Regions from separate parts of the Homo sapiens genome. Here region 2 is linked to region 1. Evidence: promoter capture Hi-C in 16 types of primary human blood cells and fetal thymus (Javierre and others, 2016). All regions are on one chromosome and are shown on one strand. The core of a region is centred on a gene start or on the middle of the fragment in contact, and the rest is flanking DNA. Distances in the headings are between cores, read along the strand shown.

Region 1 (2,994 bases), core at 1-2,500:
AGTCCCTTCCATCTACAAAAACTAGAGAACGTTTTGTGTTAAGCTGACCTCATTAAGGGAATCACGTATAAAGGAGGTTCCTCTTATCTACTCAAGGTGTGTTTGTGTGCTTTTCCTAAACATTTTTATCTAGTTGAGGATTCAAAACACAACCCGCAAAGGAAATGCTCTTTGAAAATTAAAAAAAAAAAAAAAGTGAACATGAAAAACTGCAAACACGTGGTTAAAAAAAGAAAGACAATCTCTCGACAGTCTCCAGTAATGCAGAAAAAGATTTCACTGACAAAATTAAATAGTTCATGACCACCACAAACACCTTCCGCTGGTTCACAGTAACCCCTGACATTCTCCAAGGAGAAAAATTCAGGGATAATGAGGTCATAATCCCAGCGGAGAGGAGACGAGCTTGAAAACACCTTTACATTCCGGAACGCACGGAAAAGTTCCAGGCTCTCAAAGCGTGCGCGACACCAACACCCCCCGACGCCCACACCCACGCGCGCTCGGTGCCCAGTTCCCCGGTGCCCAATTCCCCAGCGTCCACAGAAATAACACCAAGCTCCCGGTGGGTGAAAGAGTTACCGTAAGCCAGAGGCTGCAACCTCAAATACCCACTTTCTGGGCGATTCTCCAACGAGGCACTCAACCTCCTAGCGTGTCCGCCTTGGGGGGGATTCCTCGCTTATCCCCTTTCTTAGCACACAGGCGCCCCGATTTACTCTCCCCCTCTGATATTAAGGTCATGTTCACGCCGGCGGGCGTCGCTTCCCGCCTCCCACTTCAAAGGCCCGGGCGCATGCCGCACGCCGCGCTCGAACCACCACAAAGGAGCCAGTCGCAGCCGTGCCCCCCGGACCTCCAACCGGGGACTGCCGGGGAGCGGCCTCGAAGCCCGAGGCCGCCACGGGAGACGCGGAGGGGGCCGGGCCGAGCGGGCGGAGAGGCCACGCTCCACTTCCGAAGTGCCCCAGGCTCGGACAGTGCCCACCTCCGCGGCGGGAGCCGGCCGGGCAGGGAGGCGGGTCAGCGGCCTGGGGGAGGATAGGCGTCCGCAGCGTGCGTCCCGGAGTTGGGGTCGCGGCGGGCGGGGAACCGCCACGTCGCCATCTGGCTGGCCCGCGGGACGGCCCCGCCGCCCGGGCCTTGGGAGCTTGCCTGGGAACAGGGAAGGCGAGGGGGCCGCGCTCCAGCCTCACCTCCTCGCGCCTCGGCCCCGACCGCCGCCATCTTGTAGAGCTTTCATTCAAACTGGCGCGGTCTGACGGGATAGCTCAGCTGGCCCGACGCCCCGCCCCTGGCCGGCCCGCGCGGGACTTGGGGGCCGGGGCTTGTTGGGGGACGGAACCCGCACGGCGTCCTGACGTCACTGGCGGCCGACCCCCCGCCGCGGCGGCCAGCGCGCCTGCGCCCCAAAGCTAGGCCCGGCCCCAAGCGCGAGGAGCGGGGCGGGGCGAGCGCGCGTGCTCCCGGATCCTCGGCAGTGTCCGGCGCCCCCTTCCCTTCGCCAGGCCCGTTTGGCGCCTTCACTCGGGAAGACGTCGGCCAGGACTTTGCGCTTTGGAGACGTCTTACTTCGGCAGCACTCGCACACTGCGAGATCCGACACGGGCAGCGGGGACCTAGGGAGCCGGGGACGCTGCCTGTCGGGTACGGTTCCGCAGCTACCGCAGCCCCGTGGGCCATGGTTAGTCTCCCCCCGACACCGCTCCCTCTAGAGCTCCGGGCTTCGGAAGCGGCTGCACGTGGGCATGGCTGGAGAGGTTCCGCTGGCTTGGGGCAGTCGCCGGGATTCCGACTGGTTGGTGTGGGGTGTGGCCTGTGCTATCCAGCTCCCAGCTGATCCTAATGTGCGGCACAGCGGAAACCACCGGTCCACATCAGTGCTTCTCACTTAAAGGGGCTTACGAATCGTCGGGGGTGGGGGAGCTGGACTTGGAATTTTTTAAGAGATGAGGTCTCACTCTGTCACCCAGGCTGGAGTGCAGTGGCGCGATTACGGCTCACTGCAGACTAGACCTCCTGGGCTCAACTTTAATGTAAATTGGGATTGGGTAGGTCTGTAAGGGGACCCGAGCTCCCCTCCCATGTTGTTGCCAAGCTCCTGAGCTCGGCCTGGTGGCGGGTGGGGGCCGGGAGGAGAAGGACACGTTAGTAAGGAAGCTGCAGGACGACTCCAGGGGCCTCCCACCTGGTCTCCACCCCCCTCCCCCACCCATTCTTGACGCTGCATCCATGATTGTTCTAAACAACCTAAAGCAGAAATCTTAGAGCAAATAACGAAAACTGGCAGAAGGCCATTTGATATCTCCTTAAAAAATTCATGTAAAAAATTACATAAACGTTTCAAAGCAGTATGTATAAATTTGAAATACTGGAAATGAACGCAGACCATTAAAGGAATAGTTAATTATTTGATTCCATTATGAAATACTGTCTAGCCGTCTTAAAAAGGTGTTCATGAAGCTTTTAGTATTCAGCAAAACCAAAACAAATCCCCCTGAAATATAGTTTTAACTATGGAAGAAAAAAATGTATAGGAAAATAACGAAATAGCCTTTTCGGAGTGATTTTCTTTTTAACTTCTCGTTTTTAAATATTTAATCATTTTCTACGATGGGAAACACCACTTCCTCACACACACTCATGCTCCCAGACTTTATTTAGCTACAAACGGCATCATAATACAAATACTGTTCTGCAGTCCGTGTGTGTTTCAATGCAACTGCATTTCTCAGACATGTTTCTAAGATTTGAGTCCTTAGTAAATTTTGTATTCCATATCTCATTACCTTGAGATAAGGAATAAAAGGCCCTGTCCAACCCTGTCACCTGGAAGAGCATCCAGGCCCTTTAAGGCTTAGTCTATCTAGGATTATGCCTTCAGACTTGGATACAGCCTCCCGTCCTAACCGGCCCCTGTATTCATTACCTCTCCTGTATGTTTTCAGAGCCCACCAAGGAGCGGCCATCGCTACTCACTGGCCACTCTTGAAT
Region 2 (2,878 bases), core at 252-2,751, 700 kb after region 1:
ACGCAGTTGTATCCGGGCAGGCCATGCACGAAGATGTGGTAAGGATATCTATCATTTCCTTAAAAAATAAAAAATAAATAAATAAGAAAATGCGCCTTTATTCTCCAAACTTCTCTTCTTTCATATCTGACTTATAGCCCATGAGCCACACATTTGGGCTACTTTGAAAGAAAGCTTAGGGGGATTGATTTCACTGAGAGGTAGAAACAGAAGCCATGCTCTGCCCGGCCTGGACGTGTGCTTCTGGGAACGTTCAGAGGCTCCTCAGGAGACGGGCACGGTGCCTTGTATAAAGCACTTCAGCCTTTGTTGAGCAAACAAATTCCCTTAAATTGGAACAACAACAAAAAATACCTTTTTTAACATTGGAGAAGTAGTAATTTCTCCATTTTTTTTAACATAATAGAATAGAAAGTTGGCTAAGAGAAGCTAGATAAATAACTGAGATTACTCAACAAGCTGGGTATAGAAAATGGGTTCAGTTGCAGTGGCTCACGCCTGTAATCCATCCCAGCACTTTGGGTCAGGAGTTCGAGACCAGCCTGGCCAACATGGTGAAACCCCATCTCTACTAAAAAAAAAAAAAAAATTAACCGGTTGTGGTGGTATGCACCTGTAATCCCAGCAACTCTGGAGGCTGAGGCAGGAGAATCGCTTGAACCCAGGAGGCAGAGTTTGCAGTGAGCCGAGATGGCACCACCGCGCTCCAGCCTGGGCAACAGAGAGTGAGACTCTCTCAAAAAAAAAAAAAAAAAAAAAAAAGAAAAGAAAAGAAAAACAAAAAAGGAAATGTGTTAAGATGTAAGCGCTTGGTGATCTACTTTTAGAAGGTCCAACTCCTTTCTCCAAACCATGACCAGGTAAAAACATGCTTGGAAACCATAGCAAAGTTTTCAAATTAAGCCTTTGTTTCTGGAGCTATTTTCCATATCTCATAATTTCTCTTTGTTCTTATGATTACTATGATGTTTAAAGTCAATACTGTTCACAAAGTTTGGTTTCTTAGGTTATGCTGAGGTACTGAGTCAGAAAAATCATGTCTTACTAAAATTGAGACAGAAATATTCTTCACACCTGATCAAAATGCCAACTTGGCTTTATGACCTCAGGCATGAGTGTCTCTGTTTATGAACATTTTTAAAAGACAGTAGTTTTGCTTTTAATGAACATATTTAGATACCATGGTTAAGATTCAATTTGCAAAATAGAGTGCATTTCCAGGTTTGGGAGTAAAAGATGCCCATCAATTTCATTATTTTGACACAGTGAGAAATTGAATCAAGCAATTACTTTCCTTTGTGCCTCAGGTTGAAGCTGGCCAAGGAAATTTAAGACACAGGAGTGATTTGAAAAAAAAAAAAGAAACAACTCCTTAGAGCTATGAAGATAATGCACATTGAGGCACATTTATTGTTTGAAAGGTCACATTGTAAACATAATTCCATTATTAGACAATCCCAGTACTGTTAAAGGGACCATCAAACACTCTGCAGGCATGGCCCATTCCAACTTGTAAAATTAGAATAACTTAGAAGAATGAGCTTTTATAACATAAAGGAATTTCCTGCAGATTTCTAAATAAATTAATGTGTAACTTTCCAAGACACCACTAATGATATAAAGTGAACTCTGTCTGCACATTATTTCATTCGTGCATGACACATAACTTTTCAAATAAAGTGAGGTGTAAATTCAATTTTAAATTAAGAAAAATCGAGTCTAAGACCATATAATCTGGAGATCACTTATCAGCACTCTGTAAACTTCAGTGTTCTTGTTTTTCTCTTCAAATATGTTACTGCCTAGCTCTATGCTTTTTCAGCATGGGTCAGTCTCTCTGTCTGAAGTCCTCCCTCACCTCCTACACATCTCCACCCCATCCTGCTTACGACAGCCCCACGCACCAACATCCTAACCTCCTCCAGATGGTCAAAGCCACCTTCAAGAATAGGATTTCCCTTGAAGCAGCCTAATCAACAATCCCAGGTGAAATGAGTACTTCTCCCAACGTTTGCTTCCACTTGAATTGTTCAACCCTCCTGCTAGTTCTCACTCAGTAGAATTCAGAAGGTTTCTGTGATTGTTACCTCTAATCCTTGGAGTTCTTAAATTTTTCAACAGCCTTCACCTGTACTCTTCACACTGGTAACCTCAGGGCAGAGCCCCCGGTCGAACCTGCCTTAAAGGAGGTTCTCAGCATATGTGTCCACCTTGAAGGAACCTAGGAACATCCCTGTACCAAGGAGTTCATGAGTTACTTTTAGGGTAGATGATGGGGGTCTCTTTCACACCCCTACCATGAAGGATAGGCCAATTAGAGAAAAAAAAAATTTTTGTCTTGTCAGACTTCTCTTGCTCTGTTGTCCAGGCTGGAGTGCAGTGGCAAGATCAGAGATCACTGCAGCCTCAAACTCCTGGGCTCAAACTCTCCTCCTGCCTTAGCCCTCCAAGTAGCTGAAACTATAGGCATGTGCCACCTTGCCTGGCTATTATTATTATTTTTTATTTTTTGTAGAGACAGTGTCTTCTTATGTTACCCAAGCTGGTCTTGAACTACTGGCCCCAAGCAATTTCATTGCCTGAGCCTCCGAAAGCACTGGGATTCCAGGCATGTGCTACTGCACCCTATCTCTCTCTCTTTTTAAAAACACAGCTTGAGAGTTCAAAGAAGTCTTAGAAGCAGAAACTGTGTCAACTCCCATCTCCATTGATCACTATCATTTTTGTCCCCTCCCCAGTCTAGGTTTGATAAACAATTATACGGCAGTTTGGTAGTAGTGTTGGGGTTGCCTCTTATAAAGAAAAAGCCACAAATAAACAAAGCTTTTGAAAGTGGTTTGTCCAAGTCGTGACAATCCTGAACATTTTGACAGAAATA

The links. Contacts are between HindIII fragments. The CHiCAGO score rates a contact against its expected background, and 5 or more counts as called.
Region 2: a fragment that was not itself captured here is called in contact with the fragment with the promoter of SUV39H2 in region 1 in 6 of 17 cell types (fetal thymus, naive CD4 T cells, total CD8 T cells and 3 more); the score reaches 7.5 in fetal thymus.

The regions. Positions count from the first base shown.
Region 1 is chr10:14,877,122-14,880,115 of GRCh38, reverse strand. It overlaps SUV39H2 (SUV39H2 histone lysine methyltransferase), which reads right to left and starts at 1,250. Exons shown (of 6, transcript NM_001193424.2): 1 at 1,197-1,250. The coding sequence starts at 1,227. SUV39H2-DT (SUV39H2 divergent transcript) reads left to right here and starts at 1,457. Exons shown (of 1, transcript NR_186426.1): 1 at 1,457-2,994. RefSeq lists a silencer at 777-1,516. The HindIII fragment of the contact is 2,774 bases long and covers 1-2,465 here.
Region 2 is chr10:14,182,010-14,184,887 of GRCh38, reverse strand. The region is part of intron 2 of FRMD4A (FERM domain containing 4A); the gene reads left to right. It overlaps LOC124902378 (a long non-coding RNA gene), which reads right to left and starts at 1,998. Exons shown (of 2, transcript XR_007062060.1): 1 at 1,917-1,998; 2 at 1-58. The HindIII fragment of the contact is 2,649 bases long and covers 177-2,825 here.